Linked DNA regions of Homo sapiens: region 2 is linked to region 1. Evidence: promoter capture Hi-C in human tissues and cell types (Jung and others, 2019). All regions are on one chromosome and are shown on one strand. The core of a region is centred on a gene start or on the middle of the fragment in contact, and the rest is flanking DNA. Distances in the headings are between cores, read along the strand shown. Region 1 holds the start of COX19 (cytochrome c oxidase assembly factor COX19). Region 2 overlaps CHST12 (carbohydrate sulfotransferase 12).

Evidence for each region. Contacts are between HindIII fragments. The study calls those that stand out against the background at their distance.
Region 2: a contact is called between a fragment that was not itself captured here and the fragment with the promoter of COX19 in region 1, in 1 of the 25 tissues and cell types used here (heart left ventricle).

What each region holds. Positions count from the first base shown.
Region 1 is chr7:969,806-976,800 of GRCh38, forward strand. COX19 (cytochrome c oxidase assembly factor COX19) reads right to left here and starts at 5,744. Exons shown (of 3, transcript NM_001031617.3): 1 at 5,623-5,744; 2 at 3,376-3,487. The coding sequence starts at 5,704. RefSeq lists enhancers at 4,967-5,849, 5,149-5,218, 5,850-6,730 and silencers at 5,459-5,618, 5,639-5,918. The HindIII fragment of the contact is 7,753 bases long and covers 2,882-6,995 here.
Region 2 is chr7:2,414,584-2,420,785 of GRCh38, forward strand. The region is part of intron 1 of CHST12 (carbohydrate sulfotransferase 12); the gene reads left to right. Among named protein-coding and RNA genes, the nearest start is that of CHST12, 14 kb to the left of the region's middle. The HindIII fragment of the contact is 8,434 bases long and covers 1-6,169 here.

The DNA of each region.
Region 1 (6,995 bases), core at 4,494-6,993:
CTTTGATTGGCAGGATAATGACCCCTAAAGGTGTTCACGCCCTAATCCCTGGAACCTGTGCCTGCCACTGTCCACGGCACCCTGGCAGAGGAGACCTCAGGCTGCCATCCACCCAGATGGAACTGAGACTCAGGTCGACAGTTATCTGATATTTTTTTTTTTTTTTTTTTTTTTAAGAGACAGGGTCTCATTTTGTCTCCCATGCTGGGATGCAGTGGTGTGATCAGCGGTTCAAGTTCACTGCAGCCTTGAACTCCTGGGCTCAAGTGATCCTCCCGCCTCAGCCTCCTGGGTAGCTGAGACTGCAGGTGTATGCCACCATGCGTGGCTAATTTCTTTTTTTCTCCCAGAAACAGTCTCGCTCTATTGCCCAGGCTGGAGTGCAGTGGTGCAATCTCGGCTCACTGCAGCCTCCGCCTCCCAGGTCCAGGTGATTCTTGTGCCTCAGCCTCCTGAGTAGCTGGGAGTACAGGTGCACATCACCACGCCCGGCTAATTCTTGTAGTTTTAGTAGAGACGGTGTCTAACCATATGGGTCAGGCTGGTCTCGAACTCCTGACCTCATGTGATTACCCACCTTGGTCTCCAAAAGTGCTGGGATTACATGCATGAGCCACACTGCCCGGCCAGCTAATTTTTTTTTTTTTTTTTTTTTGAGACGGAGTCCTACTCTGTTGCCCAGGCTGGAGTGCAGCGGCATGATCTCGGCTCACTACAACCTCCACCTCCCGGGTTCAGGCAATTCTCCCTGCCTCAGCCTCCCAAGTAGCTGGGATTACAGGCGCCTGCCACCATGCCTGGCTAATTTTTATATTTTTAGTAGAGATGGGGTCTCACCATGCTCGTCTTGAACTCCTGACCTCAAGTGATCTGCCCACCTCAGCCTCCCAAAGTGTTGGAATTACGGGCGTGAGCCACTGCACCCAGCCAGCTAATTTTTAAAGAAATTTTTTGTAGATATAGGGTTTCACTATGTTGCCCAGGCTGGTCTTGAACTCCTGAGCTCAAGTGATTCTCCTGCTTGGCCTCCCAAAGTGCTGGGGCTACAGATGTGAGCCACCACTTCTTGCCAAAATAATTCCCAGCTGTTTATCGCAGTGCAGCCATCTTAGAGGCGTGAAATTCACGACTCAGCATGACTCTTTATGGGCCCCACACTCTTCAGGACAATAGTTACTATCATGTGAACTCACACATGGTGACATGCCCCCCGATCCTGCTGCGTGCTTTACAGGGATGGCCTCCTTTACCCTCCCCACAACCCAGCCAGGAGGCCCAGCCATCATCCCATGAGGCCCCCACACACTCTGTGCTGCTGGCAGCGGGTGAGGCTGCTCCACCAGCGTGTCTGTGTGACACCCGGTGCCTAAAACTAATCCCCAGGACAGGACGCGAACTTCTAAATCACTGCAGAGGCTTGAGATCTCAGACCACGGTGGTCATCTGAAACACACCTATATTTTCACATCAGGCAAACATGGTCCAAGTCCTCAAGAGACAACTTTAAAAACTCCATTGTGGTCCATTTTCTAAAACAGACACACACGGAGGTTGGAGTAAAGTAATGTCTAGGATTTTAGCACAGAAGGAAAAAGGAAGAAAAGAAATGGCTAAAAACAGGGTGGGTGCCGGTTATGGGAGGTAGACTCCTCAACTTCTGTATGTTTGATGATTTTCATGAACAAATAACCAATCGAAATTCTACGGTCAAAATAACTGACCTTATAGAAAGAGCAGAATTTTTAAAAAGAAAAAAAAAACAACAAAAACAAAAAACAACAAAAGCCTGGGCGTAGTGGCTCACGCCTGTAATCCCAGCACTTTGGGAGGCCGAGGTGGGCGGACCATGAGGTCAGGAGATCCAGACCATCCTGGCTAACACGGTGAAACCCCGTCTCTACTAAAAATACAAAAAATTAGCCGGGCAAGGTGGCAGGCGCCTGTAGTCCCAGCTACTCGGGAGGCTGAGGTGGGAGAATGGGGTGAACCCGGGAGGCGGAGCTTGCAGTGAGCTGAGATCATGCCACTGCGCTCCAGCCCAGGCGACAGAGTGAGACTCCGTCTCAAAAAAATAATAAAAATAAAAATAAAAAAACAATGAAATCAGAACACATGCCCTGAACATTTGCCTAAACATTGCCTGGCCAATCTGCGAGACCACCTGAGGCACTGGCCCTGGCTCCCTTCCTCCCAGCTGTCCTCGGGAGTCTCAAGGGGAAGCTGAGCATGAGGCAGGAGGCCTGCTCACACCCTCACATGAACACAGCTCAATTCACACCGTCTCTAAAGCTTGGCAGCGCCATGGAGAAATTCTCAGTTCCAGTTTTCTAAAGATGCATTAATTTAAGACTAATTTAAACACGTGGCTCCAGCCAGCGTGCTACTTAAACAATCAGAGATGGTAAGAGACAGATTCAGTGTGGCCCTTGGACAAATGTGAGCCCTGGAAGAGCCTAAGCGACAGCCCCAAAGGCAGAACGTGGCCTCACTGAAGTCCACACCGCTGAGAAGGCCCATCATCCTTACGGCCCCAAATGTCCACACGAATAACCCCGAACACACCTGTGTGGCCGGAAAGGCACAACGGATTTTTGCCTTGAGGGAAATGTCTGAGTATGTTATGGGAACATGAAAAGAGCTCAAAGTGGATGGGCGAATTGTCAACCTGTCTTCAGCACAGACACAGCTGTCTGAAGACCGAAATGCTTAGTGAGCTAATCATGGCCTCGAAAAGCAAAAATAAAAGCTCCCACTACCATCATATAATTATATGCTACATGCTTTTTTTTGCATAAGGGATTAGAATAGCTCTTATTTTAAGTAAAAGCTGTGGGGATCATAGCTACGAACGCGTTTGTTTTGTTTAAAAGTGAGCGTTGGTGAGTTCTGGTTACGACAGGAAGAATCATTCATCTTTCATCATTTCTTAAATAGTCTATTGTCCTCCCTGTCACATTCCCAACAACTCAAAGTGGAGCAAAACAACCCAGTGCATATTTTTAACATCTGAGAATGCAAAAGAAAGAAACTGTGTACCCACGACCTTCGGTCTTTTGACTCAGTCAGCATTATGATGCACGATTTGGAAACCTTAATGACAGGTCGGTAGCAACCAAATGTGGAAAGAAAATGCTCTCAGGAATGCAATCATGTATAACGCTATCGCTCAAGAAGAGGTTCCCAAGATTGTGAAACAGCTTTTGGTACAATTTCATCTGATAAGCCTCCATTTCAAGGGCAAACAATTCCACAGTCCTGAAAAACACAAGCTGAATCCCAGGCCTGAAAAAGACACACTGTAATGGCCTTTCAGGAAAAAAAAAGTTTTAATTGGAGTAGTGGGAGGTGGAAATCATAACGCTTAGCTGTACTCACCTCTCCATCCTGCATTCTAAATATTCTTTTGATTCCTTTCTGCACAAAGCATTTTCAAAATTATTGTTATGAAGACACTTCATGAATTTCTCTTTAAAGCTTTTACATTCACCTAGAACGAGAAAGAAAACAGCATGTTCTTTTCAGAGTGAAAAGTGATGCAACCACACAACAGCCTTAAGAGCTGCGCTGCTTTTCCTTTCAAAACTTGTTTCCTCAGGCCGGGCGCAGTGGTTCACACCTGTAATCCCAGCACTCTGAGAGGATCACCTGACCCCAGGAGTTTGAGACCAGCCTGGGCAACACAGTGAGACCCCCATCTCTACCAAAAAAAACCTTAAAAGTTAGCTAGGTGTGGCGCACGTCTGTGGTTCCAGCTACTCAGGAGGCTGAGGCAGGAAGATCGCTTGAGCAAAGGATTTCGAGGCTGCAGTGAGCTTGATCACACCACTGCACTCCAGCCTGGGCAACAGATCAAGACCTTGTCTCCTAAAAATAATCCAGGCTGGGCACGGTGGCTCACGCCTGTAATCCTAGCACTTTGGGAGGCAGAGGTGGGCGGATCACCTGAGGTCAGGAGTTCAAGACCAGCTCGGCCAACTTGGTGAAACCCCATCTCTATTAAAAATACAAAAATTAGCCGGGCATGGTGGCGGGTGTCTGTAGTCCCAGCTACTCGGGAGGCTGAGGCAGGAGAATTGCTTGAACCCAGGAAGCGGAGGTTGCAGCGAGTCGAGATCACACCACTGCACTCCAGCCTGGGTGACAGAGTGAGACTCCATTTCAAAAATAAATAAATAAATGATCCAGCCTGGTCAACATGGGGAAACTCCATCTTTAAAATAAAAAATAAAAAAACAATAATAATTAGCTGGGTGTGGTGTTGCACACCTATAGTCCCAGCTACTCTAGAGGCTGAGACAGGAGAATCGCTTGAACCCGGGAGGAGGAGGTTGCAGTGAGTCGAGATCACACCACTGCACTCCAGCCTGGGCGACACAGTGAGAGTCCATTTCAAAAATAAATAAATAAATAATCCAGCCTGGGCAACATGGGGAAACCCCATCTCTAAAAAAAAAAAAAAAAAAAAAATTAGCTGGGTGTGGCGCTGCACACCTATAGTCCCAGCTACTCTAGAGGATGAGACGGGAGACTCCCCTGAGTCCAGAAAGGAAGGAGGCCGAGGCTTCAGTGAGCTATGATTGCACCACTGCACTCCAGCCTAAGCAACAGAGTGAGACCGTGTCTCAAAACAAAAACAATCAAACCCAAACTTGTTTCCTTCATAAACATGCTGAAAACAACAATGGAAAAAACCCACAACGAGGTAAAGTCAGCCCAGTACGAGGTTAAGGTGCAATGTAGGTGATGGTCACAGGAGAGTTCAGGGTAAAAATTCTTTCATTTTTGCTATTTGAAAATGTCACAATAAAATGTTGGGAAAGAAACAGTAATTCACAGATCGTTTTTCTTTTCTTTTCTTTCTTTTTTTTTTTGAGACGTTGTCTCACTCTGTCGCCCAAGCTGCAGTGCAGTGGCCCGATCTCGGCTCACTGCAACCTCCGTCTCCCGGTTCAAGCGATTCTCCTGCCTCAGCCTCCCGAGTAGCTGGGACTACAGGCGAGCCACATCACACCCAACTAATTTTTGTATTTTTAGTAGAGACGGGGTTTCCCCATGTTGGGCAGGCTGGTCTCGAACTCCTGATCTTAAATGATCCGCCCACCTCGGCCTCCCAAAGGGCTGGGATCACAGGCATGAGCCACCGCGCCCGGCCCACAGATCCTTTTTCGAAGCCTTCATGTCCACGGAGGCAACCCCACCGGAATACGGCCAGAAGCACTGGGAGATCAGCAGCACTTTTGAGCTTTGCAGCAGACATCGCTAGGCACCGTCTAAGCCTCGGCTGCAGCTGCGGGCTTCGTGGCCGCCGAATGCCCCGCTCTGCAAACCCGGGGCACAGACAGCCCGCCGGGTGAGTCAGGGCGGAGCCGGAGACCCGGAAGCCTGACGCAAGGAGTCGGTGTCGCTGCCCTCGTCACGGGGGCCACGGTCCTGCCAGCTCCCACCTGCAGGGTCCATGCCGCAGCAGTGACCCAGGGCTGGGTGGGGCGGAGGGGCGGGCCGCCGTGCCTCAGTTTCCCCGCCTGCACCGCGCTAGATGCCGGCACCCCATAGGGCTCCGCGCTGGGCCGCGACCCAGACCCCCCATCGCAGACCCCTGCCCGCCGACCTTCCGCCGCTCACCTAAGTGATCCAGCGGGAAGCTGCCCTTGTCCGGGGGCCGCGGCTGGAAGCTCTTGGTCCCGAAATTCATGGCGGTCGACATGTTGGCGACTCCGGAGTCTGCGAGCGCCTTGCGAGCGTACGCAGGGCGGCCGGCGGAGCGCCGAGCAGGCACCCCGGGAGCGCCGAGCACGTCGAGCAGGCCCCGTCCCCGCCCCTTGCCCAGGCCCGGCCCCACCCCTTGCCCAGGCCCGGCCCCACCCCCTCGGAGTCAGCAAGCTCCTGAGCCCCGGTGGGCGCTGCCCGGGCTTTCCCGTCCCCTGGGACCCTCACAGCAGTCGGTAGCAGAATCAGCTTTTGGAATTGGTGAGAAACCGAGGCCCAGAAAGGTTCAGCGAATTGCCCGAGGACACATAGCGGTGCCGGCGTCTCTGCATCCCAGGTGTCTGCTGGGGCCTCGGTTTCCCCATCGCACAGAGACCTCATCACGGGGCCCATCCGGGGAGGAAGGCGGCACAGGAGGGACAGGAGAGCCTGTGGACTCGCTGCCTGCGGCTGCTGGAGCCAGGTGACACCACCGAGCAGCTTCAACAACAGGAATGTGCTCTCAGTCCTGGGGTCTGGAGTCCAAGCAGTGGGCAGAGTGGGGGCCCTGGGGACAGTCCCAGCCTCCCAGCTTCTGGGGGCCGCCAGCCTGTGAGGTTCCTTGGCTTGCAGAAGCACCACCTGGTCTCGGCCCCTACGTTCCCATGGTGTCCTGCGCATGTCCAAATTTACTATTTTTATTTATTTATTTGAGACAGGGTATTGCTCTGTTGCCCAGACTAGAGTGCAGTGGCATGATCACGACTCACTGCAGCCTCGACCTCCTGGGCTCAGCGATCCTCTCACCCCAGCCTCCTGAGTAGCTGCGACCACAGGCACACACCACCACACCAGGCTAATTTTTCTATTTTTCGTAGAGATGGAGTCTCCCTATGTTGCCCAGGCTGGTCCTTAACTCCTGGGCTCAGGCAATCCTCCTGCCTCAGCCTCCCTAAATGCCGGGATTATAGGCATGAGCCACCATGCCCAACCTAAATTTCCTCTTTTTATAAGGATAGCAGTCATGTTGGGTTAGGGGCCGTCCCAATAACTTCATCTTAACTAATTATATCAGCAGCAACCCTATTTCTTTGTTTTGTTTTTTAAAACGGAGTCTCTCTCTTGTTGCCCAGGCTGGAGTACAGTGGCTCGATCCTGGCTCATTGCAACCTCCACCTCCCAGGTTAAAGCAATTCTCCTGCCTCAGCCTCCCGAGTAGCTGGGATTACAGGCGCCACCAACACACCCAGCTAAGCTAATATATTTTTTTTCAACACAGAGTCTCACTTTGTAACCTAGACGGGCGTGCA
Region 2 (6,202 bases), core at 703-3,202, 1.4 Mb after region 1:
CTTTACTTTCTTTAATGGTAAAATTTGAGAATCCTAAGTTTTAAATTTTGATAAAGTCCAATTTACCACATTTTTCTCTCATATTTGTGCTTTTGGTATCCCAACAAATCTTTGCCTTCTCCCAAGTCATGGAGATTTTTTCCTGTTTTCCTCTGAATATTTTAGTTTTAGTGTTTATGTGTAAGGCCATGATCCATTGTGAGTTAATTTCTGTGTGAGGCGTAGGGTTGAGGTTCATTCTTTTTCATGCAGATATCCAGTTGTTTCAGCACCATTTGTTGAAAAGATTGTTATTCCTTATTGAATTACTTTGCCACCTTTTGAAAACAGCCACATACATGTGGATCTCTTTTGGGACTTTGTGCTGTCTCATTTATCTCTACAGGCATACTTCAGAGATGTTGCAGGTTCAGTTCTGGACCACCACAATCAAGTGAATATCGCAATAAAGAGAGTCAACAAAGTTTTTGCGTTTCCCAGTGCATATAAAAGTTATATTTGGCCAGGTGTGGTGGCTCACGCCTCAGTCCCTGCACTTTGGGAGGCCAAGGCGGGTGGATCACCTGAGGTCAGGAGTTCAAGACCAGCCTGGCCAACATGATGAAACCCCATCTCTACTAAAAATACAAAAAATTAGCCAGATGTGGTGGTGGGCGCCTGTAATCCTGGCTACTCAGGAGGCTAAGGCAGGAGGATCACCTGAACCCCAGAGTAGAGGTTGCAGTGAGCCGAGATTGTGCCACTGCACTCCAGCCTGGATGACAACAGCGAAACTCTGCCTCAAAAAAAAAAAAAAGTTTTATGTTTACACTATACTGTAGTCTATTAAGTGTGCAATAGCATTATGTCTAAGAAACAATGTACATACGTTAATTTAAAAATATTGCTAAAAAATGCTAACAATTATCTGAGCCTTCAGCGAGTGGCAATCTTTTTGCTGGTGGAGGGTCTTGTCTTGATGTTGATAGCTGCTGATTGATCAGGGCGGTGGTTGCTGAAGGCTGGAGTGGCTATGGCAATTTCTTTTCTTTTTTCTTTTTTTTTTTTTTGAGGCAGAGTCGCTCTGTCGCCCAGGCTGGAGTGCAGTGGCACGATCTTGGCTCACTGCAAGCTCCGCCTCCCGGGTTCACGCCATTCTCCTGCCTCAGCCTCCTGAGTAGCTGGGACTACAGGCGCCCGCCACCACGCCTGGCTAATTTTTTTTGTATTTTTAGTAGAGACGGGGTTTTACCGTGTTAGCCAGGATGGTCTCGATCTCCTGACCTTGTGATCCGCGCACCTCAGCCTCCCAAAGTGCTGGGATTACAAGCGTGAGCCACCGCGCCTGGCTGGCAATTTCTTAAGACAACAATGAAGTGTGCTGCATTTATTGACTCTTACTTTTACAAAAGGTTTTCCTGTAGCACGTGATGCTGTTTGATAACATTTTACTTATAGTAGAACATCTTTTAAAATTGTAGTCAATCTTCTCAAACCTTGCCACTGCATTATCATGTAAGTCTATGGAATATTCTAAATCTTTTCTGGTCATCTCAGCAGCGTTCATAGCATCTTTACCCAGAGTAGATTCCTCCTCAAGAAACTGCTCTTTCGTTCCTTCGTAAGAAGCAACTCTTCATCTGTTCAGCTTTGAACATGAGATTGCAATTATTTGGCCACATCTTCAGGCTCCACTTCTGATTCTACTTCTCTTGCTGTTTCCACCACATCTGCTGTTACTTCCTGCACCGGAGTCTTGAACTCCTCAGAGTCATCCATGAGGACTGGAACCAACCTCTTCAAACTTCTATTAATGTTGCTATTTTGATCTCTTCCTGTGAATCCCGAATGTTCTTAAAGGCATTAGAATGGTGAATCCTTTCCAGGTTTTCAGTTTACTTTGCCCAGATCCTACAGAGGAATCACTATGGCAGCTTTAGCCTTACAAAATGTATTCCTTTAATAATAAGACCTAAAAGTCAAAATTACTGCTTGATCCATGGGCTGCAGAATGGATGTTGTGTTAGCAGGCATGGAAACAGAAACAGATCTCAGTCGATTTAGAGGTGTATTTTGCCAAGGTTAAGAAAGAAACACAAGTCATTGTAGGATCTGTGGCCTGTGTGCTTTTTCTAAAGAGGGTTTTGGAAACTTCAGTATTTAAAGAGGAAAAAGTAGGCAGGAGGGGAAGAGGGGAAGAAAAGGAGGTGGAGTAGGCAATGAGGCCAGTGGTCACATTTTTGTGAGGCTTTTAGTACCATTCAGTGAATCTACATTTTACATGTGAAAAGAAGGGAGTGGGGCAGAGTCACATACGCCTTCTCCGCACAGTAAATCTGCATTTTACCTGCGATAAATAAGCACGTAAATTACTTTATCTGGGAAAGAAAAGAAGGCAGCTTTTCTTTTGCGTAACTTGGTTGTTAAGCTTAACTTTCCCTTTAGCTTGGTGAATTCGGGGTCCTGAGATTTTATTTTTCTTTTGCAATGTGTATACAAAGAGATTGATGATAAGAAATTGGCTCACACAATTACGGAGGCTGAGAAATTCAGACCCTGGAGAGCCAATGGTATGACTCCAGTCTGAGACGGAGTCCAAAGACGAAGACCAATGTCCCAGCTCAAAGACAGGCAGGCAGAGAGAGTTGATTCTCTTACTCTACCTTTTTTTTTTTTTTTTGAGGCAGAGTCTTGCTCTGTTGGCCAGGCTAGAGTGCAGTGGCGTGATCTCAGCTCACTGCAACCTCTGCTTCCTGGGTTCAAGCAATTCTCCTGCCTCAGCCTCCTGAGTAGCTGGGTTACAGGTGTGCGCCACCATGTCTGACTTTTTTTTTTTTTTTTTTTTGTGATGGAGTCTCACAGTGTTGCCCAGGCTGGAGTACAGTGGTGTGATCTTAGCTCACTGCAACCTCCGCCTCCCAGGTTCAAACTATTCTCCTGCCTCAACCTCCCATGTAGCTGGAATTACAGGCATGTGCCACCAGGCCTGACTAATTTTTGTATTTTTAGTAGAGACAGGGTTTTACCATGTTGGCCAGGCTAGTCTCGAACTCCTGACCTCAACTGATCCGCCTGCCTTGGCCTCCCAAAGTGCTGTGATTATAGGCATGAGCCACCACACCTGGCCTTACTCCACTTTTCTGTTGTACTTGGGCCTTCAGTGGACTGGCTGAGGCCCTCTCATACTGGGAGGGCATCCGATATCTCAGTTCACCCATTTGGATGTTACTCTCCTCCAGAAACATGCTCACAGACGCAGTCAGAGTATGCTTAACCAAATATCTGGGTACCCCACGGCCCAGTCCAGTTGACACATAAAATTAGCCACGTATTACGTGACCTTTTTGTGTGATCGATGTCAGTTCTGCTGTAACAATGTGGAAAATGCGCTTCTGGGGGGCTTAATATAGATCTGGCCATGTGGCAGTGTCTTCCAGAGCAGGATGGCTGTGGTCACGTCACGGTGACACACAGCTGAACACGAGTGAGCTAAGGCCATAGCTGTCTGTGCTAGCTGCCTTTTCTTTCTCTAGTGTTTTGCCCACAGTCAGCATGAGTATTTGGACCAGTGGCCTTGCGTGGGCAGCCGGCATGGACTTGCTCCCTGGGGCTGCAGAGTCTGCCCCTGGCTTCATGCCCTGCATGTTGTGTGTGAGCAAAGAAATATTTAACAGCCCCACCCGGAGCTAAGACACAACTCTGTCAGCCTAACCACAGTGTTTGCGTTTAAACCTAACCTAATAATTTTCAGTGCCATTTATGAGGGCATCTGACACAGCCGCCGTGGAAAAGCACCTCCACCGCTACAGTTTCCTGGCGGATGATGCTTCTAGGTGAAACTTTGCTCTGTGGGTTCCCTTGCTGGAGGCAGCAGCCCACGGTTGGTGTGCCGCAGGCGGGTTATACGTCTGTTCATCTGAGATGCCTCTGCGTGCTCTGCTTCAAATCACAGGGGGCTTTTTGTTGAAACACTGGGAGATTTGCATTTGGAAATCATGTCCTATTTCTTTTTAATGAAAAATTACTTTATGGCTTCAGTGTTGCCCATGATGTGTTTTGGAAGCAGGTGGGATCATGACCGCAGTGCTCAGCCCAGCGGTTCTATCGGACCCTTCCCTGAATGCTTCTCTCCTGCCCAGAAGGTAGCAAAAGTCACGTGGGCTTCAGGCCGGAGCTGTGTCAGTCACTGGGCCAGACATTCTTGTATGTCCAAGCTGTTGTTTCTGTTGCTGTTGTTGTTGTTTTGTTTTTTGGGATGTGGTCTCACCCTGTCACCCAGGCTGGAGTACAACGGCACAATCATAGCTTACTGCAGCCTTGACCTCCTGGGTTCAAGCCATTTTCCCACTTCAGCCTCCAGAGTAACTGGGACCACAGGTGTGTGCCATCATGCCCAGCTAATTTTAAAAATTATTTGTAGACATGAGGTCTCACTGTGTGGACCAGGCTGGTCTTGAACCCCTTGGCTCAAGCAATCCCCCTGCCTTGGCTTCCCAAATTGCTGGGATCACAGGCATGAACCACCATGTCTGGCTGTCCAAACCGCCTTTTAAAATTAAAACTTGGCTGGGCGTGGTGGCTCATGCCTGTATTCCCATCACTTTGGGAGGCCGAGGCAGGTAGATCACTTGAGCCCAGGAGTTCAAGACCATCCTGGTCAACATGGTGAAACCCCATCTCTACTAAAAATACAAAAATTAGCCAGGCGTGGTGGTGCACACCTGTAACCCAGCTACTCAGGAGGCTGAGGTGGGAGGATCACTTGAGTGGGGAGGTTGCAGTGAGCCAAGATCACGCCACTGCACTCAAGTCTGAATGATAGAGTGGAACCCTGTCTCCAAAAAAAAAAAAAAAAAAAAAATGGCTGGGCATAGTGGCTTACGCCTGTAATCCCAGCACTTTGAGAGGCCAAGGCAGGTGGATTCCCTGAGGTCAGGAGTCCGAGACCAGCCTGGCCAACATGGTGAAGCCCCGTCTCTACTAAAAATACAAAAATTAGCCAGGCATGGTGGTGGGAGCCTGTAATCCCAGCTACTTAGGAGGCTGAGGCAGGAGAATCGCTTGAACCCGGGAAGCAGAGGTTGCAGTGAGCTGAGATTGTGCAACTGCACTCAAGCCTAGGCAACAAGAGCAAAACTCCGTCTCAAAAAAAAAAAAAAAAAATTACCATTGTAACCATTTTTAAGCATGCAGTTTGGTGGTGTTAAGCACGTTCACATCACTCTGCAGCAATCACCACCCTCCAGCCCCAGAACTATGTTCATCTTGTAAAACTAAAGCTCTGTCCCCATTGAACACAAACTCCCATCCCCCTCCCCTGCCCCCACAACCACCATTCTACTTTCTGTCTCTAGGAATTTAACTGCCCTGGGAACCTCATACAAGTAGAATCTTGAAATATTTGTCTTTTTTTTTTTTTTTTTTTTTTTGAGATGGAGTCTCGCTCTGTTGCCCAGGCTGGAGTGCAGTGGCACGATCTCACCTCACTGTAAGCTCTGCCTCCCGGGTTCATGCCATTCTCCTGCCTCAGCCTCCAGAGTAGCTGAGACTACAGGCGCCCGTCAGCATGCCCGGCTAATTTTTTGTATTTTTAGTAGAGACGGGGTTTCACCGTGTTAGCCAGGATGGTCTTGATCTCCTGACCTCGTGATCTGCCCGCCTCGGCTTCCCAAAGTGCTGGGATTACAGGTGTGAGCCGCCACACCGGCCAAGTATTTGTCCTTTTGTTTCTGGCTTATTTCACTGAGCATAATGTCTTCAGGGTTCATCCATGTTGTAGCATGTGTCAGAATTTCCTTTCTTTTGAAGGCTGAGTAATATTCTACTACATGGGTTGACCACAGTTTGCTTGTCTGTTCATCTGTCGCGAACACTTGGGTTCCTTCCACCTTTTGGCTATTGTGAATGATGCTGACATCAGTGTGGACATGGGTGTGCAAGCATCTCTTCAAGACCCTGCTCTAAGTTGAGTGCAGTGGCTCATGCCTGTCATCCCAGCACTTTGGGGGGCCAAGGTGGAAGGATCACTTGAGGCCAGGAATTCAAGACCACCCTGACAACATAGCAAGATGCCATCTCTACAAAAAATTAGCTGGGCATGGTGGCAACCACCTATAGTCTCAGCTACTCAGGAGGCTGCTTGAGCCCAGGAGTTCAAGGCTGCAGTGAGGTTTGATGGCACCACTGCACCCCAGCCTGGACAACACAGTGAGACCCTGTCTCA